2 separate regions of the Homo sapiens genome follow, and region 2 is linked to region 1. The links are contacts of gene promoters, found by promoter capture Hi-C in blood cells and fetal thymus (Javierre and others, 2016). All regions are on one chromosome and are shown on one strand. The core of a region is centred on a gene start or on the middle of the fragment in contact, and the rest is flanking DNA. Distances in the headings are between cores, read along the strand shown.

Region 1 (3,981 bases), core at 562-3,061:
CCGTGGCTATAATTATTTCACAAAATGCAGTTTGCCATTTCTAGAGACAAACACTTCCTTCTCCCTCACCAAAACTTCAAGTTCAGGCCAAATATTGAATGAAAATAGAACTTGAGAGGCAGGCTTTGTTTGTAGCATGTTGTTTCTGCTAAGAGTTGCCCCCTACCCAGGCTCCACCCCAGTGGTCGGACTGAAGTGTACATGTTATGTTTTAACAGATGGGCCGGCTGGCGGCTGCTGGGCTGTAAAACAGGAACGCGGATTCTGCACTGAGTGGTATTGAACTGAACGCTCGTAAAGTTCATGGACATACTCTGACCCAGACAGACCAGGCAGATGCAGACATGCTTACGCATACACACTCACTAACACCCCACAGCTCAGAGGATCCATCTCTGTGACCCAAGGGAAGTTCAAGGCTGAATTTCCCCTTCATATATTTACCTCATTCACCTTTTAATTTTATATATACACACACTCACACATATACACGTATGTATGTGTGTATATGCGCATCTACATCTTCATATACACATACAGAACTATATATCTCAACATTTTCATGTATTTTCAAAGGTCTAAACATCCCCAAATTCTGGACCTGTTTCTGTCTAGTATTTTCAAAAGCTCTTATTCATGTCAAATAAGAATTGTAAGAAAATATCGTATTGAATTCTGTTTATTCCGCACATAATATAAACTACATGCATGTAGTTGGTCTCAGAAAAACAAGCTGCTTTTACCCCCTTACCATTAAGGGGGGAAAACAATCTAACCCAGACCGAGTCACAAACGGAGTGTCAGGTTTAACCTTGAGTTCTCTGCTGTCAATTCCTGACTCAACTTCATCACTTAAACACGCAGGTGCTCAAACAAACACCAACCGACCAGGCTGGCAATCCCTTTCGCAGCCTCTAGGATTCTCCAAGGCACTGGGCACCAGAACCGACAGCAGCTCCCGCCTGGTCCTAACGAAGTCCTTCGGACACCCCTTGCGGGTGGATGTGGAGGTCCGAGCACCTCAGGAGGGTCATGGATTCAAGTGCTAATAGAAAGCAATTACTTTAGAAAGTTCAAAGCCCAGCAGTGCTCTCAATTCCTCTCAGTAGCTGCAGAGCACTGAAGCCCCCGCTACAGAACCCGGCTGGTACTCCAGTTCTCTGGCGCTGAGACCCACCTTGAGCCCGATGAGCGCTCGCTCAGCCTTGAGATCCAGACGCGGACGCCGGGTCTTACCGTACCGCACAGCGCGGGTAATTTTTCAGGAACCGCGGTCCGCACGCCGCGGGCGCGGAGGCCGCCCCAGCGCTCCATGTCGTTGCCGCAGAGGGGCAGGGGACGCGTCCCGGCCCCACCTACCCATGTCAATTACGCCAAGTTGGTGCGGACTGGAACCGCGTCCCGGGCGGAGTTGGGATGCTTTGACAAGAAGAAGTTCGGGAGTGGGGATATTGGCACGGAGTAAATCCCGCCCAGCCCTGACCTCCCCACAGCGGTCACGCTCGGACGAACGGACCGCCGAGCGCCAGGACGCGTCCCGTCCCCTCTCGCCGCCGCCGAACCGCGCCGAGAGGAGCCGCTAGCCCGGCGCGCGGCCACTCACCGTCCTCGCCGAGTCCCGATAGCAAACCGACGTCCCTGCTGCGGTTCTAAGTGCCAAGTTGCCCCCAGTCGGTGGCTGCTCACGGCCCAGTGGACCAGGGCACATTGGTTCCGGCGGGCACCTCAGGGGGAGTGCGGCAAGCCTGGCGGCCGCCGCGGCCACACAGTCGCCCACAGCGCGCTGACAATTCACGGACCTGCTCAACGAGTGAGGCGGAAAGCAGGGCTAAGCCGACCAGGCTCTGGAGGGGAGGCGGGGCTGCCGCTAGGGGCGGAGCCAGCCCCGGGGCGTCATCAGCCCATGACTGGCGGAGCCGACAGCCAGTCGTGGTGGCGCTGGGACCGCCCCGTAACCGCCGTCCAGTCGCCTGCGGCCGAGGGCAGGCTGGCGGGACGCGCCGGCGGCGGGGAAGTTGGTTATTGCGAAGTGCCGTGGCTGCCGGCGGGCGCTGCGGGACTCTCTGCAATGGGACCCGAGCAGCTCTAGAGGGAGGCGGCGGCCCCAGAAGGCCGTTGGCTGAGAGAGACCAGGAGCCCTCGGAGCCGCCGCGCGCATAGCGCTGTGGAGCAAGAAGCCAACCGCAGCGCGGGTCGACACGCCAGTATCTGGCACCGGCAGGAGGCGCGGAACTTAGCTGCCCCATCGGAACCCCGCCCGGAGGAAGCTGAGGGCCGAGAAAGGATGAATTCCGGACCGGGTCGCCCAGCCACAAGTGGAAACCTGGGCTCTCTGGAAAACGTTCTGATCTCGATCTGGCTATCTCTGAAACAAAACTCCAGCCCCGCAAACCTCCCAAAGTTCAGTACACGTCCCCGTCCTCACCCCTGCCCTCCGGGCCACCTGCAGCGGGGGACTTACCGGCGCCTCGGGTCTCCTCCTCCCGACCCAGCGCGTCGCGGACACAGCTGGCGGCCAACAGGAGGCTTGGGCGCTCGACGGCGCCGGAACCTGTGAGACCGTCGCTCTGGGCGGGCTGCCGTGCGGGGTGGCATCCTCTGCGGTGACTTCTGCTGTCTTTTGGGTCCGCCAGGATTCCAAAATCCCAGGCGGGTCGCTAGAATTATCCATCTTCGTGGACAGGAAGCCCCAGAACGAACCACATCTGTCCCACTCTGCTTCCGCCCTCCTTCCCCTTCGCAAGCTCCTGGCTGGGATGGAGACATCGGACGAGCTCGGAGATCCCGACCTCTCAGGGGTCACTCGCAGCCGAACAGCCTGGAATATGGCCTTGTGGGCCCTTCCCGCCCAACCCCCTAGGACCCCACTGCTCATCTTGTCAACCAGTTTCTGAGCCCCTACCCTGGCTGCAGCACGTGCTCGCACAGGCGCGCTGAGCTACTAACATAGAATCAAAAGCAGGGAGTTGGGTGTTCTTGCTTTCCCGCTGAAACCTAGAATGTAAACAAGCCCTAGACCGTCAGCTGTGGGTGGGTAGGGGCCTCTCCCTGCCTAGAACTGCTCTTGCCATGGGTAGGCACCTAACCCGTATTAGTAAGAATGAAGGAATGCATGCTCATAACAAGAAAGGGGTCAACCTGCTGCCCTGATACTCACCTTCACCACTTACGTCTTGCTTCCAGCGCAAGCCCACTTCAGACCATTGCCTCATTCAGGTCCCAGAAGTCCTAAGGGTTTTAGTCTCTCAGTATGGGCAATTATTCACATGTAAGGGAGCTGCAAGGTGTTATTTCAATGCCATCTGGCCTCTATAAGGTCTTGCATCATAGCTGACCTCTCATGAGAAGGTTCTGATGAGGTCACCAGGGAGAAGGAATGTAAAGGGCTGGTGGCTGAAAAGGAGTGAAATGGCCCCTCTTAGGTGAGCTCTGGCCTGGTTTGAGTTTCAATTCTGTCTCCTCAGCTCCATTTCTCAATGGGAAAAGGTCCATAGGAAGGTTGTCAGAAGGGCAGGAGACTAGGGCAGGGATAGCCCTTTGCAGACCCTGAAAAATTGCTCAGTAATGCAAACATTGTCCATATTTAAGTTCTTTCTTTTCTTTTCTTTTTTTTTTGAGGCAGAGTCTCACTCTGTCGCCCAGGCTGGAGTGCTATGGCTTGGCTCACTGCAAGCTCCGCCTCCTGGGTTCACGCCATTCTCCTGCCTCAGCCTCCCAAGTAGCTGGGACTACAGGCGCCCGCCACTACGCCCGGCTAATTTTTCGTATTTTCAGTAGAGACGGGGTTTCACCGTGTTAATCAGGATGGTCTCGATCTCCTGACCTTGTGATCCGCCCGCCTCGGCCTCCCAAAGTGCTGGGATTAGAGGCGTGAGCCACTGCGCCCAGCCTTAAGTTCTTTATTTTCTATCTTGTGGACCAAAGGACTGCTACAGGCAAGGAAGACCATCTGACTCAATTCCAGAGGTTCCTTAGCATGCT
Region 2 (3,863 bases), core at 960-3,459, 52 kb before region 1:
TATCACCCAGGGAATGACATAGAGGGATCTTTCTCCTTCTATATTCATGCAGCTGAGGCACATCTTCATTCTTTTTGTTAATCTTTTTTTCCCAGTTAAGATACATTTTTGTTATGTCCTCTATGGGACACACCTGGGTGTCCATACTACAGTGTGGAGGACCTTGAGGGTAAAATTATCCACAGCCCAGTGGAGTTTGGACACAAAATCTTACATGACTCGATCAATTTCACTTTGCATTTTGCCAGCCCTGAACCTAGGAATCATTCTGTCTTCTTGTTAGCTTACTCTGGTTTCAAATCTAGGTACAAGTCAAACTCTCTTTCAGCTCCTCTGCTACTTGGTCTCCAGGTTCATTGCCTCTGCTTTGGGCTACCCTGGCTTCCTTGCAGAACTATCTGACCCTCTACTGGGGCACTCAGCCCCTGTGTGGTTTCCAAAAGCTGAGCCTCTGTATTTCCTTTCTATCTATCTAGACCTCTTCACATCCTTGACCTGCCTTGGGGCCACCTCAGACCTGGGGTGGCTGATTAGTTGTCTCCCCACCCAGCTGAGGTCACCATGGCTTTCTCCTATCTCCTGTTTCTGAGGTCAGGAGCTGAAATGACACAATTTCCTTCAGGAGCCCACTCTGGCATCTGCAGTTGCACACATGGCACCTGGCTCTCTCTCCCTCTGGGAATCCTCGCCCCGATCCTGGCAGCAGGGAGAGCCCCATTGGGCCCTCCACCTGCTCACGTGGCAGGCAGCCCACACATCCTGCCTGGAAATGCCCCCACAGTGATGCTTTCCTGATCTGGTTTACATCCACCGATCCTGGGTTTGCTTCTTGGTCCCATCCTCCAAGACAATTCCTAGGAGCTTTGAAGAGAAAGGAAGGTCTATGTATATGAGAGGTGATGCCTGCTCTTAATGCCCTGCTATCAGGCCACATTTGGAGGCACAGGTTTTATCAGTTTTGGCCAGACTGCTGTCCACCCAACATAATCAGCACGTACATGACTGAAGGCAGAGCTCTGCTCTAGGGCAACATGTTTTGGGTCCGAGGTAAATAGCAGATACAGAGGTGCTGAGGGGATCACATGAAGTCATGCTGCTGAAGTTACTGTTGCCCTGTACAAAGTCCTTTTTCATTTTTATAAGGACCCCAAGGCACAGCTTTGTTTTAGTAGTGGCTTATATAATTGACTCCCCTCTTTGCCTTGGCTGCTGGAAAGCTTAGCACCAAACCTGAAGGTCACCTAGGGCATAGAATAAACCTGAATGAATTTTTATAATAATCTTAATCACTGGTCCATTTTATATTCTTACCTTTCATTTTTCACTTCTACCCCCAACCCATCTACCTCTAATGTATATTTCCTTGCCAGCCACCTTAAGCCCTTCCTAAATCAAGGAATCGGCAAACATAAAATAAGGTAAACAAACATAAAAATGGGGTTTTATGGAAAACTGAAACAGATCTCTTTCACACCGTTGCTTGGAAGATAAATTTCTAGAGAGCAATAACTACTAAATATTACAATGCATATATTCATGACACAGAAATATCAATTCCAGAAATTTATCCTACAGTCATACTCATATAAGTGTGCAATATATGTTTGATTGCAGCTTGTTTATAATAGAAAAAAGAAAAAGAAATAAGGTAAGTGTACAGGAATGGCTAAACACAGCATGTTGCATGTATACAAGGCAACACTATTCGGCCATTCCGAAATGCAAGATTAATATACATGTCCTAACATCAAGGATGCCTTCAATGTATTAAGTAAAACACAAAGACATTTGTGATTAGGGGTACAAACAAAAATTGTCATCCTTAGCATAGAGGCTTTCTCATAATTCAAGGCAGTATTAAGTAACTAACAGATATGAGAAAGCAAAATTGGAGAAGCTGAGGGAGCTATATTCTCTGAATTAGCACAAGTACAGAGCAAGAGTGTGGGGAAGGCAGGTAGAGCCGAGGAAAGATGAGGGGCTGGCCCCCAAGAGAAAGGCTTTGGCAGTTGAGTATTGTATGTTGGGAATCTTGTGATGTTTTGTCTTCACGTGGTGAGTTTTCTTTTCACTCTACCCCCAAAACCCTCAGTAAAACCTACCTTATTTTCCAATACTTTTGCAGCTGGATTTATTTTGGAGGGAACTGATAAAGTACTACATGTGACCTAAAGGCCAGAAAGGGCCAAGGAGAGAGAGACTGCCCAGAGTGACCAGCCCCATTCGGGTCACCAACCGATAATTAGGTCCCATGCAGAATTAGTTCTGGACATATTGGGAATGGAATGTTGAAGAATAGGGAAAGAGTGGGGGAAAAAGAACAAAAAGCCAGATCAACCCTATGTGAAAGGATGTTTTGGCTTAGTAGATACTAAGGTTTCTTTTCATACCTAGATAACAGAGATTTATGAAAAAGGTGAAAGGATCACAGGAGAGAAGATAAGATGTCAGAGTGTCCACAATTAAACATGTGACAGATATATGAAGTACTCGTTCTGACTACATTAGTTGTTACAGGCATATCAGCATTATCTAAGAAAAGAAAAAAGACGTTTTCTTCATTCAACATTCCCCTCACTGCCCACTGGACCTCTATGCAACTCGGCTTTTTGCTCTCACACAGAACTGCCCTGACTGTTTCTATGAGCGGCTCTCTCTCTTCTGTAACTGAGCACCTCTTTTGGAGCCACTGCTTTTATGTACTGTGTGACCAGCCCAGTGAGGAACTACATGGAGCAGGCCTCATGGATGGGCTTCTGGGGCTCTCAGATCCCTGGAATGTTATGCAAACTATTGTGTACATACATTTTCTGGAGCAAGGGCTCTGGCTGAACTATCAATGGGAAGACTCCACTCCAGATGTCAAGAACCTTGGATTTAGAAGTCTGATGTGGAACTCCCCTAAGAAAAATCCTATTATTGAAAACTTTTGTTACCTCTATCATATTTAGATATGTATATACATGTTTATTTCTCAAGGTAGGTGTTGCACACGGACTTTCCTTAATTTAATATGATGTTGTAATAACCTGGGGCTTTATCAGTCCTATTTATGTTTCAACAGTACAGTCATTCTGAGGGGCTTTTGTTTAGGTTGCTGACTCTACTTGTTAGCCCAGAATTTACTTCCTCAACCAGACTGCGGCTCTTTAGGACATGGACCACATGTTTCTGTGTTTTTGTATTTCTAAGGTCTAGCACAAAGCTTGGCAAACATCTGGTACTTAACAAATAATAAGAGCTCACAATAACTGGGTATTCAGAGTATGTCACACACTGAGGTGTTTGTGATTTCATTCCTTATTTGATAGGTGAGGAAAACGAAGTCTTAAATGCAGATCCATTTTGGGAAGACTGTAAACCCTCGATGTCAACCACTCTATATAAATCTTGTTAAGGGAATGAATGCTGAATGATGGTTAACACTTTCCATTATGTAGGTAAAGACACTAGGTATCAGCATGGGGGCAGGGCAGCTGCATCAGGAACTCAGGTTACCTGTCCTCCATTTAAGTGTGTTTTTCCTTAGAGTTTTCTAATTTTGAAATGGTCTTTATTCCTTATTAGAAATGAAAGTGAGGCCAGGCGCAGTGGCTCACGCCTGTAATCCCAGCACTCTGAGAGGCTGAGGCGGGCAGATCACCTGAGATCAGGAGTTTGAGACCAGCCTGACCAACATGGAGAAACCCTGTCTCTACTAAAAATACAAAATTAGTCAGGTTTGGTGGTGCATGCCTGTAATCCCAGCTACTCGGGAGGCTGAGGCAGGAGAACCGCTTGAACCCGGGAGGTGGAGGTTGAGGTGAGCCGAGATTGCACCATTGCACTCCAGCCTGGGCAACAAGAGCCAAACTCCATCTCAA

What was found. Contacts are between HindIII fragments. The CHiCAGO score rates a contact against its expected background, and 5 or more counts as called.
Region 2: a contact is called between a fragment that was not itself captured here and the fragment with the promoter of MARCHF3 in region 1, in 4 of 17 cell types (naive B cells, total B cells, erythroblasts and 1 more). The highest score is 10.7, in naive B cells.

What each region holds. Positions count from the first base shown.
Region 1 is chr5:127,028,747-127,032,727 of GRCh38, forward strand. It overlaps MARCHF3 (membrane associated ring-CH-type finger 3), which reads right to left and starts at 1,812. Exons shown (of 5, transcript NM_178450.5): 1 at 1,604-1,812. LOC105379163 (a long non-coding RNA gene) reads left to right here and starts at 2,597. Exons shown (of 2, transcript XR_007058920.1): 1 at 2,597-3,981. RefSeq lists a silencer at 1,774-2,153 and an enhancer at 2,150-2,694. The HindIII fragment of the contact is 7,560 bases long and covers 1-3,981 here.
Region 2 is chr5:126,976,088-126,979,950 of GRCh38, forward strand. All of the region lies in intron 1 of MARCHF3 (membrane associated ring-CH-type finger 3), which reads right to left. Among named protein-coding and RNA genes, the nearest start is that of MARCHF3, 53 kb to the right of the region's middle. The HindIII fragment of the contact is 1,988 bases long and covers 1,216-3,203 here.